3 separate regions of the Homo sapiens genome follow, and all the other regions are linked to region 1. The links are contacts of gene promoters, found by promoter capture Hi-C in human tissues and cell types (Jung and others, 2019). All regions are on one chromosome and are shown on one strand. The core of a region is centred on a gene start or on the middle of the fragment in contact, and the rest is flanking DNA. Distances in the headings are between cores, read along the strand shown.

Region 1 (4,194 bases), core at 830-3,329:
AATATCACTTTGGCATATTAATAATTTTACTTGTCTCCAAGATCTTCCTGAAATTTTGAGTTTCTTCACAGGTCTTCTTCCTCTGGGATTTAAGTGCTGTAGAACACCTGTCAATTCCATTTACTTCAGTTCATCAATTTTTTTTTTTTTAGACCGAGTCTTGCTCTGTTGCCCAGGCTGGAGTGCAGTGGCACAATCTCAGCTCACTGCAATCTCTACCTCCCGGGTTCCAGCGATTCTCCTGCCTCAGCCTCCCCAGTAGCTGGGACCACGGGCGCATGCCACCACACCCGGCTAATTTTTGTATTCAGTTCAACACTTATTGAATACCTATTATGTTTCAGGCATCAGACTACCTGCTGAAGCTACAAAGTAGTGGAGCGCATGCCTGGTTTTATGCCTGGAACACTTGACTTACTAGTTCTAGACTCATAACTAACTCCATCCAAATTGCATTGAAAAGAGAATCCTGCTCCTATGGCTATTAAATGCCACAAAGGAGAATGCAACCAATTAAGAGCAGTCCAGGTTACTAAGGTGATAGAAAGAAAAAGGGGGAGGGAGAGGGGGAGGAAGAGAGAGAGAGAGAGAGAGAGAAAGAGAGAGAGAGAGAGAGAATGAAAGAGAATGAATCTCCCCATGCAAAAAAAAAAAAAAAAATTGGGGAAAATATTGGAATCCAAAGACACTAGGGAAGAAGCATACTTTAAAGGCGGGATAGTTTTCTAGGCTAATGTAGAGTTTCATTTTTGTTACACATTATACCTATAAACAAGAACAGTGCAAATGAAAGTAATAGGAAATTATGCCTATTTCATTATTTTAAATTAATATATTTATTACAGCATTAATGTTCTATGTTGACACGATTATTTTTTTTTTTTGAGACGGTGGCTTGCTCTTGTCCCCCAGGCTGGAGTGCAATGGCCGTGATCTTGGTTCACTGCAACCTCTGCCTCCTGGGTTCAAGCGATTCTCCTGCCTCAGCCTCCCGAGTAGCTGGGATTACAGGTGCGTGCTACCATGCACGGCTAATTTTTTTGTATTTTTAGTAGAGACGGGGATTCACCATGTTGGTCAGGCTGGTTTCGAACTCCTGACATCAGGTGATCCGCCCGCCTCGGCCTCCCAAAGTGCTGGGATTACAGGCTTGAGCCACTGCGCCCGGCCGACATAATTATTTTATAACATTTCCTCACATCAAAAATCTTTGAGGGAGAATATCTCTTATTGAAGTTCTGGTAAAAAACCTTGAAGTCTGTAAATTTGGGGTGACAAAGAGAAGGAGACAATTCTTTGTGATGTATACCTCCTGACATACTATGTTGTTCTATTGAGAAAGTCTGAAGACATAATTTCCAGTTCTAAAAGTGCAAGGAGAAGATTCATTGCTTCCTCTGCTCCCTACCAGCTGAAGGAGCAGTCTCCTTTTGTCTTCTGAAATAAAAAGGAGGCAAAGGGTGTTAGAGTGGAGGGTTTTTTAGGGGATTAAACCTGGGTACTTCAGAACCTCTGAGGTCCCTTTAGCTTTTATTTAAGTAGCTCCTGTTTCCCAAAATAAGAGGGCTGGAGCACAGAGGCCAGACGGGCCAACTTAGGGTACAGCACAGGTCGGGGGCAGTCGCCCTATCTGGAGCGAGAGGTATCCGCATTCTGCAGGTGCAGGGACTGTGATCCAGCACCCTGCCGCCTCCTCGCTCCGGCTCCCAAGAGGGCGGGAACCGCGGTGTTGCAGGGTGCGAGGCTTGGCTTCGGAAACGCAGATCAAGTGTATTTCAGGCGGCAGACATCAATCCAGTTGGGTGCTCACACCTGGCCCGGGGGAGGGGAAACAGCATCCATAGGAACCACGGGGCGGAGAGGAACCCCTCGTTTGGGACGCTAGAGGGCTGCTCCGGCTTGACTAGGTCCGACTGCTTTTCTGTGATTGCTTCTTTATCCCGCCCATCATCCCAGTACTCTATCTCGATTGGCTTTTCGGTCTGCCACTCGGTTCCGCCGCGCTGACCCCCATTGGCCCCCTCCAGTTGAGGCCCCGCCCCGCGAGCTGGGCACGGGCACTGGGGCGCCGAGGAGACAGAGCCCGGCGCTTGATCTGGGCTGGGGGGAGGCGGTGGCGGCTGAGGGAAGGAGGAGGATAAGGAGGAGGAACGAGGCCAGCAGGAGGCAACGGCAGCGACGGGGCCGGGGTGATGGTGCAGGTGCCTGGGGTCGGTGCGGAGCTGCCGGGCTGAGGGACGCCTGGTCCAGGGTCCGCAGCGCCGCCGCGTCGCTCCCGGGCGGGCGGGCGGGAAGATGCTGAGCAGGTTGATGAGCGGCAGCAGCAGGAGCCTGGAGCGCGAGTACAGCTGCACCGTGCGGCTGCTGGACGACAGCGAGTACACCTGCACCATCCAGGTCAGCGCCGCGCCGCCCCGCCCCGCCCGCGGGACCCCCTTGTCCCCCAAGTCTGGTCAACTTGGCCGGCGGCGGCCGCCGCCCAGGGGTCGCCCCAGCCCCAGCGCCGTGCTTTGTCCGTTCCTGGTTGCGGCGGACCGCCCTAGTGCAGGGCGTCTTCACCGGAGCCCCTGCCGGAGCCCTGGCACCCGGTGTGTCACCGCCGCCGCGGGGCGAGTCTCCGCGTCCCACACCCCTAAGTCCTACCCTGCTCTCCCTGGGTGAGGGCGCCCCGTCCTGGTTCCTCGAGCCCGCCCGAGTAAGGTGCACCTTTCCGGGGCGCCCGGAGGGAGGCGGGTAGGGCGGTAGGCTCCTAGCCCGGCCGCCCCGTCGGGGGCGCAGGCTTTGGCTCTCTGCCCGGGCAAGGACGTATGGCTGGCTTTTCTTATCTTTCTTGGGTTGGAAGGATAATGGTTTATGTCATAATTCCTCCCCCCACCATTTGTGAGTCAGAGCTTTCAGAAGGTAGAACTGAACGCGCAGCCCATGCGGAGTGGCCTATTGAAGGAAGCCCAGTCCTCTGGGTTTTAGAGATTTAGGCCCCCTCCCGCCTTTTGATCCCCAAATTTTATTGTGTTGGGCGGTTCTAGGGGACGTGAGGTAAAGATTTAGCAACAAGTCCCAGCGATTTGGGGCTTGGAAGTGGCCAGGAAGAATCGGCGACTTAGGAAAAACGCCAACAATACGGTAATGCTCAACAGCATTTCTTTCAGAACCTGGTATTTTTGAAGGGATTTTTACAACCTCTTGCTCATGTTCCTTCGCTACTGCTGTGTGCACGTCAGGAGTAGTAGTCTTTCCCGGGAATGCAGTCACAGCCCTCTCTCCTCCCTTATGAAAAAGTCAGAGATTGAAAACATTGACAATGCTCCCGTGTTTAGTTCATCAGCCAGGAGGATCCTGCGCTCATCGCCGGAAGCTGCTCTTTGTGGAGAAGCTAATTGAGCTGGACCCAGAGGGGTCTCACCTGATCCTTTGCCTTTGCAGCAGGAAAACAGGAGGAGGCTTCTGGCTCAGATGTGACAGACAAAAACTGTCGGCCTGGGTCCTACCCTCAGTGTCTTCTTGCCCCCCGCCTCCTTATTTATTTATTTTTGCTGACAGTGCTCAATCGCGGAAAATAGCGGTGTGTGAGAAAGACACTGGGTAGTGTATGAGAGCAGCTGGTCTCTGCTGACTCCGTGCTCAGTTCAGCCTTCTCCTCACTTTCCCTTTTCTCCCTCCCCTCGAAACCAGCTCTGGGCATAAGTGCTGACTGCTGCCAAAGATCCATGAGGGTAGAGAAAGAGCACAAAATCTCTTTTTAAGGCTACTTAAATACAGACTAAGCAGTCATAAAGATGCTAGCCATCAAGTGAAAGGATTTTTGTAGTTGAATATGATAGAGAGATGCTCTGTATTATTTCCTTGCTGAATGAGTGGAATACTACTTTTTGTTCCTATTGTATCATTGTGCCATGTCCAGTTTTTTTTTGCTTTTTTTGTTTTGCTGGGGTATGAGAATACATTGAGTTGATATCTTCACCATTTGAGTATATTGTCTAGAGCTTTTTAAAAGTCTTTATCCTTTTGTTTTAAAATTTAAAGCATTTATCCAATAGCATATCAAGGGGAGTGTGAGATTTAGACTTTATAAGTCCTAAGAATACTTTTGGGGTATGTGAAATAATTTCCGAGGCAGGTCATTAACTTTTGCCAAGGTGTAGAATACAAATAAAACACAATTCACATCACCATTTCGCTAGAAATGATTGTTAA
Region 2 (4,194 bases), core at 804-3,303, 190 kb after region 1:
CACCTGAGGTCGGGAATTCCAGACCAGCCTGACCAACATGGAGAAACCCCGTCTCTACTGAAAATACAAAATTAGCCGGGGTGGTGGCACATGCCTATAATCCCAGCTACTTGGGAGGCTGAGGCAGGAGAATCACTTGAACCCGGGAGATGGAGGTTGCGGTGAGCCAAGATCACGCCATTGCACTCCAGCCTGGGCAACAAGAGCGAAACTCTGTCTCAAAAAAAAAAAAAAAAAAAAAAAAATTAGTTAATTAATTAAAAAAATTAGATTTTAAAAATTCAAAAAATTAAAAGATAAAAATATCTGGCCTTGTAGATACTAGGAAAATGCAAAGTATGTTAGGATGTTAATGTCCATTTTGATCAGCAGACAGAGAACTTGAGGGATTAAAAACATTGTTCTCAAAACAGTCAAGTTTGTCAAATGTGTACATTAACTCCAAATGAAATTCTAGGCCCTCACAGTATCATTAAAAGCAGAGGTTTATATATATGTAGGCATACCTTGGAGATATTGCAGAATCAGTTCCAGACCACCGCAATAAAGTGGATAGTGCAATAAAGCAAGTCACAGATTTTTTGGTTTCCCAGTGCATATAAAAGTTATGTTTCACTATACTGTAGTCTGTCAAGTGTGTAATAGCATTATGGCTGGAAAAAAACATTTATATATTTTAATTTAAAAATGCTTTGTTGCTAAAAAAAAAAATGGTAACAATTACCTGAGCCTTCAGCAAGTTAAAATCTTTTGGCTGGTGGAAGGTCCTGCCTTGATGTTGACAGCTGCTGACTGGTCAGGGTGGTGGCTGCTGAAGGTGGCTGTGACAATTTCTTATAATAAGATAAGATAACCATGAAGTTTGGCACATCAGTGGACTCTTCCTTTTATGAAAGATTTCTCTGTAGCATGCAATGCTGTTTAACTGCATTTTACCCACAGTAGAACTTCTTTCAAAATTGGAGTCAATCTTCTCCAATCCTGCCACTGCTTTATCAACTAAGTTTATGGGATATTCTAAATCCTTTGTTGTCATTTCAACAATGTTCACAGCATCTTCACCAGGAGTAGTTTCCATCTCAAGAAACCACTTTCTCTGCTCATCCATAAGATCTTGAGATTGCGGCAATTCAGTCACATCTTCAGGTTCAACTTCTAATTCTAGTTTTCTTGCTATCTCTACCACATCTGCAGTTACTTCCTCCACTGACAGCTTGAAATCAAGGGTTGGAATCAACTTTTTCCAAACTCCTGTTAATGTTGATAATTTGACTTCTCCCCATGAGCCACAGATGTTCTTAATGGCATCTAGAATGATGGCATTCAGTTCTTCAATTTACTTTGCCTAGATCCATCAGAGGAATCACTATTCATGCAGCTATAGTCTTATGAAATGTATTTCTTAAAATAACACTTGAAAGTGCAAATTACTCCTTGATCCATGGGCTACCAACTGGATGTTAGCAAGCATGAAAACAACATTAATCTCCTGTACATCTCCATCAGATCTCTTTGGTAATCAGGTAGAGTGTCAGTGAGCAGTAATATTTTGAAAGGATTTTTTTTTCTTTTTGAGCAGCAGGTCTCAACAATGAACTGAAAATATTCTGTAAACCATGCTGTAAACAGATGTACTGTCACCCATGCTTTGTTGTTTCATTTATAGAGCACAGGCACAATATATTTAGCATAATTCTTAAAGATCCTGGGATTTTTAGAATGGTAAATGAGCATTGGGCCTCAGTTTAAAGTCACCAGCTGCATTATCCTTTAATCTGAGTCAGCCTGTCCTTTGAAGCTTTGAAGCCAGACGTTGACTTTACTCCATCTATGAAAGTCCTAGATGGCATCTTCTTCCAGTGGAAGGCTGTTTAATCTACATTGAAAATCTGTTGTAGCCACCTTCATAAGTGATCTCAGGTAGATCTTCTGGGTAACTTGCTGCAGCTTCTGTATCAGCACTTACTACTTCATCTTGCACTTTTATGTTATGGAGATGGTGATATGGTTTGAATGTGTGTCCCTGCCCAGATCTCATGTTGAAAGATAATCCCCAGTGCTGGAGGTAGGGCCTGGTGGGAAGTGATTGGATCTGGTGGGGGTGGCTTCTCATGAATGGTTTAGCATCATCCCCCTAGTGCTGTTCTTGGGATAAGAGTTATCATGAGATCTGGTTGTTTAAAAGTGTGTAGCACCTTCCCCTCACTCTTTTCCTCGTGCTCCGGCCATGTGAGATGCCTTGCTTCCCCTTTGCCTTCCACCATGATTGTAAGTTTCCTGAGGCCTCCCAAGAAATAGAAGCCGCTGTATTTCCTTTATAGCCTGCAGAACTGAGTCAATTAAACCTCTTTTCTTTGTAAATTACCCACTCTCAGATATTTCTTTTTTCTTTTTTTTTTTTTTTTTTTTTTGAGATGGAGTTTCACTCTTTTTGCCCAGGCTGGAGTGCAATGGCGTGATCTCGGCTCACTGCAGCCTCCACCTACCGGGTTCAAGTGATTCTCCTGCCTCAGCATCCCGAGTAGCTGGGATTACAGGCACATGCCACCATGCCCGGCTGATTTTGTAGAGACGGGGTTTCACCATGTTGGCCAGGCTGGTCTCGAACTCCTGACTTCAGATGATCTGCCTGCCTTGGCCTCGCAAAGTGCTGGATTACAGGCATGAGCCACCACACCCAGCCTCAGGTATTTCTTTATAGCAGTATGAGAGTGGACTTAATACAGATGGCTTCTTTCCTTAAACCTCATGAACCAACCTCTGCCAGCTTCAAACTTGTCTTGTGCAGCTTTCTTATCTCTCTCAGCCTTCACAGAATTGAGAGGTAAGGCCTTGCTCTGGATTTGGCTTTGATTAAAGGGAATGCTGTGTCTTGTGTGATCTTCTATCCAGACCACTAAAACTTTCTGCATATCAGCCTGAAGACTGTTTTACTTTCCTGTTATTCATGTGATCACTGGAGTAGCACTTTAAATTTCCTTCAAGAACTCTTCCTTTGCATTTACAAATTTGGCTATTTGGCTCAAGAAGCCTAGCTTTCAGTCTATCTCAGCTTTCAACCTGCTTTTCTCACTAAGCATAATCATTTTTAGCTTTTGATTTAAAGTTAAAGACATGTGACTTTTCCTCTTACTTGAACACTTACAGGCCATTGAAAGGTTATTAATTGGCTAATTTCAATATTGTTGTGTCTCAGGGTATAGGGAGGCCCAAAGAGAGGGACTGAGTTGGGGGAACAGCTGGTTGATGGAGCTGTGAGGACACATAAAACATTTGTTAAGTTTGCCATCTTCTATGGGCATGGCTTATGGTGCCCCAAAGCAAGTATAGTAGTAACATTAAGGATCACAGATCACTGTAAGAAAAAATAATATTAATGGAAAACTTTGAAATATTGCAAGATTTAACAAAGTGTGACACAGAGACATGAAGTGTGCATGTGCTATTGGAAAAATGGTGCTAGTAGACTTGCTGGATGCCAGGTTGCCACAAACCTTCAATTTATTAAAACAAAAACAAAAACAAAAACATAGTATCTGTGAGTCACAATAAAGTGAAGCACAATAAAATGAGGTATGCTTGTACTGATATGTACACACATAGGTATACATACATGTTAAATAAAAACTATGGCATTTTCTCTGGAAGTTTGATTTAACATTCATTTGAAGTACCTTGGCTCACTGGTGTGGGTGTGTTACTAAATTTCTTGTAAGGACACATTCCTCTTGGAGAGAATGCTGGTTTGAAAAATAAATATGAGAGCTATTGGTCCAAATTGCTATTATAGATTAAAAATCAAATTGTTTTACAGAAAATTTTTAGTCAAACCATGCTGCCAAAATAGGGGGTGAAACAATTCATAATGCTGGGTTCCTAATAATTTATTCATTTAACATCAGCAAATATTTGTTGAGTGTCTACAGCTTGCTGGACACCATTCTAGGCCCCTTTCTTCTTCAGTGAACAAAAGAGACAAAAATTCATGTCCTCATAAATTCTAGCAGTGATCCAGGGGTGGAGAATAAGCAATGAATAATAAACATAAAAAAATTAGTAAATGATATATGGTATATTAGAAAGTGATAAGTGCTGTAGAATACGAAAACATAGAGTAGGGTAAGGAAAATGGGGACTGCTAGAGTTGGATGGGTGGTTGTAATATCAAGTATACGTATCAAATACGGTAGTCAG
Region 3 (4,194 bases), core at 1,194-3,693, 150 kb after region 1:
CTAGTTTACAGTCCCACCAACAGTGTAAAAGTGTTCCTATTTCCCCACATCCTCTCCAGCATCTCTTGTTTCCTGACTTTTTAATGATCGCCATTCTAACTGGCATGAGATGGTATCTCATTGTGGTTTTGATTTGCATTTCTCTAATGACCAGTGATGATGAGCTTTTTTTCATATGTTTGTTGGCCACATAAATGTCTTCTTTTGAGAAGTGTCTGTTCATATCCTTCACCCACTTTTTGATGGGGTTTTTTTTTATTGTAAATTTGTTTAAGTTCTTTGTAGATTCTGGATATTAGCCCTTTGTCAGATGGGTAGATTGCAAAAATATTCTCCCATTCTGTAGGTTGCCTGTTCACTCTGATGATAGTTTCTTTTGTTGTGCAGCAGCTCTTTAGTTTAATTAGATCCCATTTGTCAATTTTAACTTTTGTTGCCATTGTTTTTGGTGTTTTAGTCATGCAGTCTTTGCCCACTCCTATGTCCTGAATGGTATTGCCTAGGTTTTCTTCTAGGGTTTTTATGGTTTTAGGTCTTACATTTAAGTCTTTAATCCATCTTGAATTAATTTTTGTATAAGGTGTAAGGAAGGGATCCAGTTTCAGCTTTCTGCATATGGCTAGCCAGTTTTCCCAACACCATTTATTAAATAGGGAATCTTTTCCCTGTTGCTTGTTTTTGTCAGGTTTGTCAATGATCACATGGTTGTGGACATGTGGTGTTATTTCTGAGGCCTCTGTTCTGTTCCATTGGTCTATATATCTGTTTTGGTACCAGTACCATGCTGTTTTTGTTACTGTAGCCTTGTAGTATAGTTTGAAGTCAGGTAGCGTGATGCCTCCAGCTTTGTTCTTTTTTGTTAGGATTCTCTTGGCAATGCGGGCTCTTTTTTGGTTCCATATGAAAGTTAAAGTAGTTTTTTCCAATTCTGTGAAGCAAGTCAGTGGTAGCTTCATGTGGATAGCATTCATTCTGTAAATTACTTTAGGCAGTATGGCCATTTTCATGATACTGATTCTTCCTATCCATGAGCATGGAATGTTTTTCCATTTGTTTGTGTCCTCTCTTATTTCCTTGAGCAGTGGTTTGTAGTTCTCCTTGAAGAGGTCCTTCATGTCCCTTGTAAGTTGTATTCCTAGATATTTTATTCTCTTTGTAGCAATAGTGAATGGGAGTTCACTCATGATTTGGCTGTCTGTCTGTTATTGGTGTATAGGAATGGTTGTGATTATTGCACATTAATTTTTTATCCTGAGACTTTGCTGAAGTTGCTTATCAGCTTAAGGAGATTTTGGGCTGAGACGATGGGGTTTTCTAAATATACAATCATGTCATCTGCAAATAGGGACAATTTGACTTCCTCTTTTCCTAATTGAATACCCTTTATTTCTTTCTCTTGCCTGATTGCCCTGGCCAGAACTTCCAATACTATGTTGAATAGGAATGGTGAGAGAGGCTATCCTTGTCTTGTGCCGGTTTTCAAAGGGAATGCTTCCAGTTTTTGCCCATGCAGTATTATATTGGCTGTGGGCTTGCCAGAAATAGCACTTATTATTTTGAGATACGTTCCATCAGTAGCTAGTTTATTGAGAGTTTTTAGCATGAAGGCTGTTGAATTTCGTCAAAGGCCTTTTCTGCATCTATTGAGATAATCATGTGCTTTTTGTTATTGGTTCTGTTTATGTGATGGATTACGTTTATTGATTTGCGTATGTTGAACCAGCCTTGCATCCCAGGGATGAAGCTGACTTGATCGTGGTGGATAAGCTTTTTGATGTGCTGCTGGATTCAGTTTGCCAGTATTTTATTGAGGATTTTCGCATTGATGTTCATCAGGGATATTGGCCTAAAATTTTCTTTTTTGGTTGTGTCTCTGCCAGGTTTTGGTATCAGGATGATGCTGGCCTCATAAAATGAGTTAGGGAGGATTTCCTCTTTTTCTATTGTTTGGAATCATTTCAGAAGCAATGGTACCAGCTCTTCTTTGTACCTCTGGTAGAATTCGGGTGTGAATCCATCTGGTCCTGGACTTTTTTTGATTGGTAGGCTATTACTGCCTCAATTTCAGAACTTGTTGTTGGTCTATTCAGGGATTCAACTTCTTCCTGGTTTAGTCTTAGGAGGGTGTATGTGTCCCGGAATTTATCCATTTCTTCTAGATTTTCTAGTTTATTTGCTTAGAGGTGTTTATAGTATTCTCTGATGGTAGTTTGTATTTCTTTGGGATTGGTGGTGATATCCCCTTTATCATTTTTTATTGCATCTATTTGATTCTTCTCTCTTTTCTTCGTTATTAGTCTGGCTAGTAGTCTATCTATGTTGTTGATCTTTTCAGAAAACCAGCTCTTGGATTCATTGATTTTTTTGAGGGGTTTTTCATGTCTCTATCTCCCTCAGTTCTGCTCTGATCTTAGTTATTTCTTGTCTTCTGCTAGCTTTTGAATTTGTTTGCTCTTGCTTCTCTAGTTCTTTTAATTGTGATGGTAGGGTGTTGATTTTAGATCTTTCCTGCTTTCTCTTGTGGGCATCTAGTCCTATAAATTTCCCTCTACACCCTGCTTTAAATGTGTCACAGAGATTCTGGTACGTTGTGTCTTTGTTCTCATTCGTTTCAAAGAACATCTTTATTTCTGCCTTCATTTCATTATGTACCCAGTAGTCATTCAGGAGCAGGTTGTTCAGTTTCCATGTAATTGTGCGATTTTGCATGAGTTTCTTAATCCTGAGTTCTAATTTGATTGCACTGTAGTCTGAGAGACTGTTTGTTATGATTTCTGTTCTTTTGCATTTGCTGAGGAGTGTTTTACTTCCAATTATGTGGTCAATTTTAGAATAAGTGTGATGTGGTGCTGAGCAGAATGTATATTCTGTTGATTTGGGGTGGAGAGTTCTGTAGATGTCTATTATGTGGTCAATTTTAGAATAAGCGCAATGTGGTGCTGAGCAGAATGTATATTCTGTTGATTTGGGGTAGAGAGTTCTGTAGATGTCTCCTTGGTCCAGAGCTGAGTTCAAGTCCTGGATATCCTTGTTAATTTTCTGTCTCGTTGATCTCTCTTGTGTTGACAGTGGGTGTTAAAGTCTCCCAGTATCATTGTGTGGGAGTCTAAGTCTCTTTGTAGGTCTGTAAGAACTTTGCTTTATGAACCTGGGTGCTCCTATATTGGGTACATGTATATTTAGGATAGCTATCTCTTCTTGTTGCATTGATCCCTTTACCCTTATGTAACGCCCTTCTTTGTCACTTTTGGTCTTTGTTGATTTAAAGTCTGTTTTATCAGAAACTAGGATTGCAACCCCTGCTTTTTTTTTTTTTTTTTTTTTTTTTTTTTTTTTTTTTTTTTGCTTTCCATTTCCTTGGTAAATATTCCTCCATCCCTTTATTTTGAGCCTACGTGTGTCTTTGCAGATGAGATGGGTCTCCTGAATACAGCACACTGATGGGTCTTGACTCTTTATCCAATTTGCCAGTCTGTGTGTTTTAATTGGGGCATTTAGCCCATTTACATTTAAGGTTAATATTGTTATGTGTGAATTTGATCCTGTCATTATGATGCTAGCTGGTTATTTTACCTGTTAGTTGATGCAGTTTCTTCATAGTGTGGATAGTCTTTACAATTTGGTATGTTTTTGCAGTGGCTGGTACTGGTTGTTCCTTTCCATGTTTAGTGTTTCCTACAGGAGCTCTTGTAAGGCAGGCCTGGTGGTGACAAAATCTCTCAACATTTGCTTGTCTGTAAAATATTTTATTTCTCCTTTGCTTATGAAGCTTAATTTGGCTGGATATGAAATTCTGGGTTGAAAATTTTTTTCTTTAAGAACATTGAATATTGGCCCCCACTGTCTTCTGACTTGTAGGGTTTCTGTCAAGAGATCTGCTGTTAGTCTGATGGGTTTCCATTTGTGGGTAACCTGACCTTTCTCTCTGGCTTCCCTTAACATTTTTTCCTTCATTTCAACCCTGGTGAATCTGACTATTATGTGTCTTGGGGTTGCTCTTCTCGAGGAGTATCTTTGTGGTGGTCTCTGTATTTCCTGAATTTGAATGTTGGCATGCCTTGTTAGGTTGGGGAAGTTCTTCTGAATAATATCCTGAAGTGTTTTCCAACTTGGTTCCATTCTCCCTGCTACTTTCAGGTACACCAATCAAATGTAGATTTGGTCTTCTCACATAGTCCCATATTTCTTGGGGGC

The links. Contacts are between HindIII fragments. The study calls those that stand out against the background at their distance.
Region 2: a contact is called between a fragment that was not itself captured here and the fragment with the promoter of FRMD5 in region 1, in 1 of the 25 tissues and cell types used here (dorsolateral prefrontal cortex).
Region 3: a fragment that was not itself captured here is called in contact with the fragment with the promoter of FRMD5 in region 1 in 1 of the 25 tissues and cell types used here (H1 embryonic stem cells).

The regions. Positions count from the first base shown.
Region 1 is chr15:44,193,156-44,197,349 of GRCh38, reverse strand. FRMD5 (FERM domain containing 5) reads left to right here and starts at 2,079. Exons shown (of 14, transcript NM_032892.5): 1 at 2,079-2,397. The coding sequence starts at 2,296. RefSeq lists silencers at 59-294, 2,529-2,578, 2,689-2,748 and enhancers at 1,579-1,678, 1,194-1,693, 1,694-2,195. The HindIII fragment of the contact is 20,453 bases long and covers 1-4,194 here.
Region 2 is chr15:44,003,689-44,007,882 of GRCh38, reverse strand. All of the region lies in intron 1 of FRMD5 (FERM domain containing 5), which reads left to right. Among named protein-coding and RNA genes, the nearest start is that of WDR76, 180 kb to the right of the region's middle. The HindIII fragment of the contact is 6,821 bases long and covers 1-4,194 here.
Region 3 is chr15:44,040,143-44,044,336 of GRCh38, reverse strand. All of the region lies in intron 1 of FRMD5 (FERM domain containing 5), which reads left to right. Among named protein-coding and RNA genes, the nearest start is that of FRMD5, 150 kb to the left of the region's middle. The HindIII fragment of the contact is 3,758 bases long and covers 565-4,194 here.